Linked DNA regions of Homo sapiens: region 1 is linked to region 2. The links are contacts of gene promoters, found by promoter capture Hi-C in blood cells and fetal thymus (Javierre and others, 2016). All regions are on one chromosome and are shown on one strand. The core of a region is centred on a gene start or on the middle of the fragment in contact, and the rest is flanking DNA. Distances in the headings are between cores, read along the strand shown. Region 1 has its middle 6.7 kb from the start of NUP160. Region 2 holds the start of C1QTNF4 (C1q and TNF related 4).

Evidence for each region. The method cuts DNA at HindIII sites, captures the fragments that hold promoters and counts their contacts. A CHiCAGO score of 5 or more calls a contact.
Region 1: a contact is called between a fragment that was not itself captured here and the fragment with the promoter of C1QTNF4 in region 2, in 2 of 17 cell types (M2 macrophages and megakaryocytes). The highest score is 6.2, in M2 macrophages.

Annotation. Positions count from the first base shown.
Region 1 is chr11:47,852,814-47,857,235 of GRCh38, forward strand. No RefSeq gene overlaps it. Among named protein-coding and RNA genes, the nearest start is that of NUP160, 6.7 kb to the left of the region's middle. The HindIII fragment of the contact is 5,986 bases long and covers 1-4,422 here.
Region 2 is chr11:47,592,822-47,597,612 of GRCh38, forward strand. It overlaps C1QTNF4 (C1q and TNF related 4), which reads right to left and starts at 1,590. Exons shown (of 2, transcript NM_031909.3): 1 at 1,327-1,590. The HindIII fragment of the contact is 4,016 bases long and covers 1-2,903 here.

The DNA.
Region 1 (4,422 bases), core at 823-3,322, 260 kb after region 2:
GGCCATCCTAGGCAGATTGCAGGGAGAGACCACACACAGAGACTCTAATTCTACTTGAAGTGAGAGATGCCTGGTAAGTCCCCAGGTCCCAGATATTTTGTAGAGCACAGATGAGTCATGACCACTGAGCCCTGTCCAAATTGCATATTAATGAGCTAAATACATGATTGCTATTTTTATTTTTATTAAATTAAATTAATTAATTAATTAATTTTGAGACAGAATCTCACTCTGTCGCCCAGGCTGGAGTGCAGTGGCTCAATCTTGGCTCACTGCAACCTCCAGCTCCTGGGTTCAAGTAGAGGTGGGGTTTTACCATGTTGGCCAGGCTGGTCTCGAACTCCTGACCTCAAGTGATCCACCCGTCTCAGCCTCCCAAAGTGCTAGGATTACAGGCATGAGCCACCGCGCCCGGCCTCAATGTACATATTTAATGTAGTAATGTTTTTTCATTTTTTTCTCAGAAAAAAATGTTAAATTGATGAGGCATGTTTCGGTTTTATAGGAATCTAGGAATTACATTTTTTGACAGTGAACACTTTTTAGCTTTAGATCACTGTCTTATCTCCAACATCCATCAGAATTCCGGGAACTTCACGTTACCTAATAAATGTTTGAGGAATAATTAAATGAATGAATAAGTGCATATATGCATTTTTGGAAAACTCAAATACCCTTTGAACTATTAATGTTCTGGGGGATGGTTATAACATAAATTGAATCATATTGCCATCTAGTGGTTAGGTAGTGACTTCGTTTAGAAACAAAATGCAGAATGTTACCAATATTGTGCAGCAAGTTTTATTTAAATACTTTTTTTTTTTTTCAGATGGAGTCTCGCTCTGTTGCTCACACTGGAGTGAAGTGGCGCGATCTCTGCTCACTGCAACCTCTACTTCCCAGGTTCAAGCGATTCTCCTGCCTCAGTCTCCTGAGTAGCTGGGATTCCAGGCACGCACCACCACACCTGGCTAATTTTTGTACTTTTAGTAGAGATGGGGTTTCACCATGTTGGTGAGGCTGGTCTTGAACATCCGACCTCGTGATCCGCCCGCCTCGGCCTCCCAAAGTGCTGGGATTCCCGAAGGCGTGAGCCACCACGCCCGGACTTTTTCTTTATTTTTTTTTTTTTGAGACGGAGTTTCGCTCTGTTGCCCGGGCTAGAGTGCAGTGGGGCATGATCTCAGCTGACTGCAATCTCTGCCTGCTGAGTTCAAGTGATTATCCTGCCTCAGCCTCCTGAGTACCTGGGATTACAGGTGCCCGACACCACGCCCGGCTAATTGTTTTATTTTTAGTAGAAACAGGGTTTCACCATCTTGGCCAGGCTGGTCTTGAACTCCTGACCTCGTGATCCACCCACTTTGGCCTCCCAAAGTGCTGGGATTACAGGTGTGAGCCACTGCGCTCAGCTGAACAATACTGTTAATTGAACTTTAAGCAGATTTTCATAACCAACTTGATAGCTACTCCTTGAAAGAAGAATTTGGTGGTTTAAACAAGTGTGGGAAATGATGATAAATAAAGTTAAACATATTTCTTTCTTGAAGAACTTTTCAAAGACATTAATATAATAGCTTTGTGAAGTTCCAAGAAGGCCTTATGCATGATACTGCTTTCCAGACTCTTTGACATACAGAATACTCTTTTCAAGGGGCAACTCATTGGACCATTGTTCTTTGAGAATATATTTTGGAAAACATGGCTTTACTTTCATTTTGCCCATAGGTTAAAAATATCAGCTGGGCATGGTGGCTCACACCTACAATCCCAGCATTTTGGGAGGCTGAAGCAGGAGGATTGGTTGAGCCCAGGAGTTTGAGACCACCCTGGGCAACATAGTGAGACTCCATCTCTACAAAAAAAAAAAAAATTATCCAAGTATGGTAGTGTACACCTGTAGTTTCAGCTACTTGGGAGGCTGGGGCAGGAGGATCCCTTGAGCCCAGAAGTTCAAGGTTATAATGAGCTATGACTGTGCCGCTGCACTCCAGCCTGGGTGACAGAACGAGACTCTGTTTCTAAAAAAAAAAGCAGAATTGTGGAATAAATGAAGTATGTCAGTGACTTCTCAATTCCGTTTTCAGTATTCTTTCTACCCACTTAGGAAACCACCATGACTTTAGACTCCAGGGCCTTTGAGGGGCCCTGAAAGCCCAGGGCTCCCACCTAGACTTGACCCTCCTGTGCTTTGGACTTATCCTTGGGAACTATACACCCTGGATTGTTTTCACCTTTCAGGTAATATTTTCTATAAATTTCTCTTTTTTTACTTTTTTTTTTTTTTTCTGAGACAGGGTGTCACTCTGTCGCCCAGGTTGGAGTGTAGTGGCCTGATCTCTGCTCACTGCAACCTCCGCCTCCCAGGTTCAAGTGATTCTCCTGCTTCAGCCTCCCAAGTAGCTGGGACTACAGGCGTGCACCACCACGCCCAGCTAATTTTTATATTTTTAGTAGAGACGGGGTTTCACCATGTTGGCCAGGCTGGTCTCAAACTCCTGACCTCAGGTGATCCTCCCATCTCGGCCTCCCAAAGTATTGGAATTACAGGTGTGAGCGACCATGCCTGGCCTTTTAAAAATTTTTTTTTAAATTTTTTGAGACAGAGTCTTACTCTGTCACACAGGCTGGAGTATAAGGTGCAATCTTGGTTCATTGCAACCTCCACCTCCCAGGTTCAAGCAATTCTCATGCCTCATCCTCCTAGTAGCTGGGATTTCAGGCGTGTACCTCTAACAACATTTTTGTATTTTTAGTAGAGATAGGGTTTCGCCATGTTGGCCAGGCTGGTCTCGAACTCCCGGCCTCAAGTGATCCCCCACCTTGGCCTCCCAAAGTGCTGGGATTACAGGCGTAAGCCACTGTGCCCAGCCAATTTTCTGTAAATTTCAATTATGATTCATTATATGATTAGTTAAATGTTACTTCTGTATCTTTGTAGGAGCTTACATGTAATTTAATTCACAAAATCAAAACAAACTCTTGCTAAGGTGGGCGAGGTGGCTCACGCCTGTAATCCCAGCAGTTTGGGAGGCTGAGGCGACAGATCACTTGAGGTCAGGAGTTCAAGACCAGCCTAGCCAACATGGTGAAACCCCACGTCTACTAAAAATATAAAAAAAATTAGCCAGGCATGATGGCATGCACCTGTAATCCCAGCTACTAGGGAGGCTGAGGCAGGAGAATTGCTTGAACCTGGGTGGTGGAGGTTGCAGTGGTGCCATAATGAGCCAAGGTGGCACCACTGCACTCCAGCCTGGGCGACAAAGCAAGACTCCATCTCAAAAAAAAAAAAAAAAATCCTCGCTTGAACCATATGTTCTGAGTTTTACTTCTGAAAATATGAATGCCTTACCTATTAAAACTAGCTCTGGTATAACTGGAAATGAGTTGACATTATAGTAATTCACACTGAGGTGCTGATGACTATAAAAACTTCATAAATTGCCTTTCCCAGAGGTAAGTCATGGCAACATACACTACCTTAACTGGTAGGGCATTGCCCCTCCTCCCTCTCTTGCTAATCAGTTGTGGGAGTCCTTTTCTACTGCCTCGGTATCATTTTCAACAGAGTGATTCAGAGAGCTATCAGCTGACTGGAATTGGCACGTTATCTATATACTCCACTTACCATCTCATTCAAAGGGATTAAACTCTAGTGGTGGAATTGGAGGCATCAACAAAGAACCAGATGTGCAGGTAGCCTCAGTAGGGGCAGTTAAGTTCATCTCAGTAAAATATGTTTAATATTAGTCTTTTTTTTTTCTTTTTTAAGATAGAGTCTCACTCTGTTGCCCAGGCTGGAGTGAAGTGGCACCATCTCCACTCACTGCAGCCTCTGTCTTTTGGGTTCAAGCATTGTCCTGCCTCAGCCTCCCGAGTAGCTAGGATTACAGGTGCTCACCACCACGCCCAGCGAATTTTTGTATTTTTAGTAGAGACAGGGTTTCACCATGTTGGCGAGGCTGGTCTTGAACTCCTGACCTCAGGTGATCCACCTGCCTTGGCCTCCCAAAATGCTGGGATTACAGGCGTGAGCCACCGCGCCTGGCCAATATTAGTCTTAAAAAACAAGGTGGGCCAAGCATGGTCTCGCCATGTTAGCCAGGCTGGTCTCGAACTCGAGGCGGGCACAGGAGTTTGAGACAAGCCTGGGCAACATGGCGAAACCCCATCTCTACATAAAGTACAAAAATTAGCCAGGTGTGGTGGTACATGCCTGTAGTATCAGCTACTCTGGAGGCTGAGGTGGGAGGGAGGATGACCTGAGCCCAGGGAGGTTGAGGCTGCAGTGAGCTAGCTGAGATCACATTACTGGGCAACAGAGACCCTGTTTAAAAAAAAAAAAAATCAAGATCAAAAGTTGATCCAGTAAAAAGGGTTATTTGCATGTATAGAGTCCAAAAGTGCTTTTTTTTTTAG
Region 2 (4,791 bases), core at 340-2,839:
ATGTTAGAGCAGCACCTGGCGTAAAGTATGCCACCTTCTCATTCTCATACTAAAGACCCCAAGTTGCTAGCCAACTGAATGCTGTCTCCTTCCAGAGGAGGTGCTTTTTGTAATTCTCACAAAGGTGTCCTATGGATTAGTTAGGTGTCCCTTGGTTAGGACAGGGAGGAGGGAAGGGGCCATCCACAGTGGTGAAGATGGCACCTCACAAGTGTCCAGTGCATTCCCTTTTACAAAGTTCTTTTAGACACATGGTCTTGGCAAACCTACAAGACAGGTGGGCCGTCTCCCATTTTATAGATGAGAAAGCTGAGGCCCAACAAGGGAAAGCATTTTGGCCCAAGGTCACCCATGGAGCACTGAGGTTTTTTGACTCAAATTCCGTATGCCTTCCTGTCACTCTTCCCTCCTAGACACAGGTATGTCCAGCCAATTTGTTCTGTGCCTCAGTTTACCTTTTTGCAAAACTAGGAGAGGAGATCAGAGGAATGAGTCTTGGGATCCAGGGTGAGGAAGACAGAAAGCAAAACCAAACAAAAGCAAGCAAACACATTCTCTAGTGTTTTGTCTTCTGGGAACACGGAAAACAGCTCAGCTTTTCCATACCGCTGCTTTCCTAGTGGGTCCTGCCCCAGAAGCAGCTGCCCAGCAACCTCCTGACCAAGGCTGGTGCACCCCACCAGTGCCAAGGGTCTTCCTGTGCACCCAGTACCCAGCCTCCGTTTCACCCACACTGCCCAATTCCCAGATCCCTGGATCCTCGTCCTTCCCTGAACCCCCTTCCCTGAGCAGGTCAGAGGTGTGGGAGGGTGTGTCAGGTGGGTGTCATAGCTCCAGGGAAGGAAATGGCTGTTCCTGGCTCTGTCCAGGTGGGGTTCAAAATAGTCATCTTCAAAGAGAAAAACTGGGACACAGAGCTGGAGAGACCCAGAGCCCCGGAGCCAAGGCGGGAGGTGCAGCGATGTCAGGCTGAGGGGATCGCAGAGTTCCCCCTTGCCCTGCCACTCACCAGTTAACCCTTCCCTCAAGCCCTGCCAGAGCCCCCTCCCCAACCTACCTTGAAAGCCCCTCATCCTTCCAAGAAGTCCCACTTTCACAGAAGCCAATTAATCCTTATTTTTAAAAAACAAAAACCAATCCCTCTCCCCCGAGACCTTCCCTCCATCCATCCATCCCTTTGGAATGAAAGCCCTTGTGCCTGTTTCACGAAAAGGCTCCCAGGTCCTCCTTTCAAGGAAAAAGGACCCAATTTCCCCGCGCCTCCCCAGCCCTCGCTTCCAGTAAAGGGGGAACCTCGGCTCCCTGCCTCCCCTCAGCTGCCCTCACCTGGCTGGGGGCGGCGGTCGAGTCGGGTTCGGTCTGAGCCCGCGATCTGGCTCCGGGCTGCGGGCTGCGGGCTGCAGGCTGCAGGCTGCGGGTGCCGGGCTGCGCGCTGACCGCCCGCGCTGCGGCAGGGGCGGCGGGGGCTCCGGCTGCTTTTCCCGGCTCTGAGGCGGCAGCGGACAGGGTGCTGGGGCCAGGGGCCGGGCGTGGGGAGGCGTGAGGGAAAGGGAAGGTCAGCTAGAGAGGGAGCCGAGCGAGAGCGAAGAGGCGGGGGAGAGACGGGAGGGGGAGAGGAGGGGAGTAGGGGAGAGGGAGGGGCGAGCTGCGGGGCCTAGGGGCTCCGCACGGAGTCTGCGCCGAGCACTGGACCCTTCCTCATCTGTGACCTCCTTAGAGCTTCGTCCTCTGGGTCTAGAGAGCAGGCATCATTAATCTGAGCAGTTGGGGAAACTGAGGCCAGAGGCAGCAGCTAACGCGGGGTGGCCCAGAGCGCTCTACAGTCCAGCTTCCTTCCTAGTGTGGGGAGAGAGGGCTAGAGCTGGACTCAGAGGCTGGACTAGCCTTTGGGCTGCAAGGACAGTGGAAGGTGAGATTTTGGCTGGGACAGATGTCCAAGCTAAGTGGCCTTGGGGGAGAGGTCTGAAGGAAGAGAAGGATAAATGGGTCAATGTTGCCAGTAAAGGAAGAGCTGAAAATAACCTAGTTTTTCCTCCTCACCTCCAAATTGGAAAATGCCCACGGTCGGTTAGGAAAGAGGGAGAAGGGAGTCTGCAGGCATCAGAGGGGCAGCCTGCGTTCCCCGGGGTGAGGGGCAGTAAGGAGGAGAGTCCTTGGGGCAGAATGGAATTTTCTGCTGGGAAGGTTGCTCCTGCAAGAAGGGACAGGATTGAGAGGGCAATAGGTGGGGAAGAAAGGCCTCTGGAGAGGGAAACTGATGCCCTGCCTCGCTGGGGCCAGGCTAGCAAGAGTCCAGCAGGGCACCCGGGCTGGGAACAGCGGTCTTCCCATGGTAATACTCACCAGAGGCACTAGTGCTGGCCTCTACTCTGGGCTTCGAGCCCGTGGGATGGGGGCTCAGACTCCCTTTCTCTAGGCTGCTGTTCTCTCCCCTGACGGCTGTAGAGGTGACGACACTGCCTGGCACTCAGTAGATGCTGACTGAGTGGATGACTTTTGAAGAGCTCTACTTTCAGCAGCCAAGAGCTGGTGCCCTCTGCCTGGCCCTGGTTGACTCCAGAGCCATGGGCTCTAATTCTGCCTCTGCTGCAGGTCTGCTCTGTGGTCCCTGAGAGGCCTGGACCCCTGCAGAACCCCCGTCCTCTGGAGCTTTCCTTTTGGAGCTCTCAAAGTTTACCCCACCCCAGTTAATCTATTTGTCTCTAGGAAGATGTTGGTAGAGGTGATTGGCTCTGCTTCAAGGGTGTTAGGTGAATGATGGAATGAATTAACGAATATGTGCCAGAATAGAAAGGAATGAATGGAGGTGTTTTGGGCTGGATAATGAGGGTATTTGGTGACAGAGGGTGAAGCACCTGTCTAGCCCTTGTCAGATCACAACTGTCTCTTTCACCAACTTGAAAAGCTTGGGCCACAGGACTGTGGGGAGGACAAGAAGCAGGGTAAGGGTGGGATGAGCCACACAGGGATGTCGAAGGAGAGCTGGGGGATGCCAAAAGCCAACCTATGGCAATCTATGGCCCTTCTTAGGGCCATGGGCCCCTTCTGGATGAGAAGAGTGGAGCTGCTCTCCTGAGGGTGATTCCAATGGTGGGAGGGGAGGGGAGGGGAGAAGGTATATTATAGGATAATATAATCTCAGTTGAGGTTTGGTTCAGGCTGGGATTTGACACTCCCTGGATCCACAAGAGTTCTCACCAGAGAAGTGAGGGTTGAGGTAGAGATGGGTGGCTGGGGCAGATGACATCAGGATTTGCATCAGGGGACTGGGATAGGGAGGAAGCCACTGGGAAAGGGATATAGAGAAAGATGATGCCATGAGCTGGTGGGTGTAAGGCAGATGGGTGGGCTCCAGAATGGGAGTTAAGAAGAGGTGGCAGCAGGATCCAGAGAAAAGCCCTAGGCTGGTTATAGTCCCTGCTCCCTCCTCTCTTGTTTTGCAGCCACAATTTTATTTATTTTTGAGAGAGGGTCTTGCTGTGTCACCTGGGCTGGAGTGCAATGGTATGATCTTGGCTCACTGCAGCTTTGACCTTGCGGGCTCAAGTGATTCTCCCACCTCAGCCTCCCAGGTAGCTGGGACTACAGGTGCAGGTCACCATGCCTGGCTAATTTTTTTTAAAATTTTTTGTAGAGACGAGGTCTCACTCTGTTGCCCAGGCTGGTCTTAAACAACAATTATTTTATTTATTTTTTAATTGAGACGGGTATGGCTGGGCATGGTGGCTTACGCCTATGATATTAGCACTTTGGGAGGCCAAGGTGGGAAGATCGCTTGAGCTCAGAAGTTTGAGACCACTCTGGGCAACAGAGTGAGACCCCATCTCTCTCTCTCTTTTTTTTTTTTTTTTCTGAGACAGACTCTCGCTCTGTTGCCCAGGCTGGAGTGCAATGCTGCGATCTTGGCTCACTGCAACCTCCGCCTCCCGGGTTCAAGCGATTCTCCTGCCTCAGCCTCCTGAGTACCTGGGATTACAGGAGCGCGCCACCATGTCCGACTAATATTTTGTATTTTTAGTAGAGACGGGGTTTCACCATGTTGGTCAGGCTGGTCTTGGAACTCCTGACCTCGTGATCCGCCCGCCTTGGCCTCTCAAAGTGCTGGGATTACAGGCGTGAGCCACCGCGCCCAGCTGTCCCCATCACTTAAAAAAAAAGTTAAAAAAATTAACATTAAAATATATATAAATTGAGACGGGTTCTTTTTTCTTTTCTTGAGATGGAGTTTTGCTCTTGTTGCCCAGGCTGGCGTGCAATGGAGCAATCTTGGCTCACCGCAACCTCCCGCTCCCAGGTTCAAGTGATTCTCCTGCCTCAGCCTCCTGAGTAGCTGGGATTACAGGTATGCACCACCACCCTGGCTAATTTTGTATTCTTAGTAGAGATGGAGTTTCTGCATGTTGGTCAGGCTGTTCTCAAACTCCTGACCTCAGGTGATCCGCCCGCCTCAGCCTCCCAAAATGCTGGGATTTCAGGAGTGAGCCACTGCGCCTGGCTGAGATAGGTTCTTACTCTGTCACCCAGGCTGGAGTGCAGTGGCACGATCTTGGCTCATTGCAGCCTGGGCTTAAGTGATCCTCCCCCGTCAGCCTGCCACCACGTGGCAGCTAATAAACAACAATAATTTTTATTTATTTTTATTTTTTGAAATGGAGTTTCACTCTTGTCACCCAAGCTGGAATGCAATGGTGCGATCTCGGCTCACTGCAACCTCCGCCTCCTGGGTTCAAGTGATTCTCCTGCCTCAGCCTCCTGAGTAGCTGGGATTACAGGCGTATGCCACCACACCAG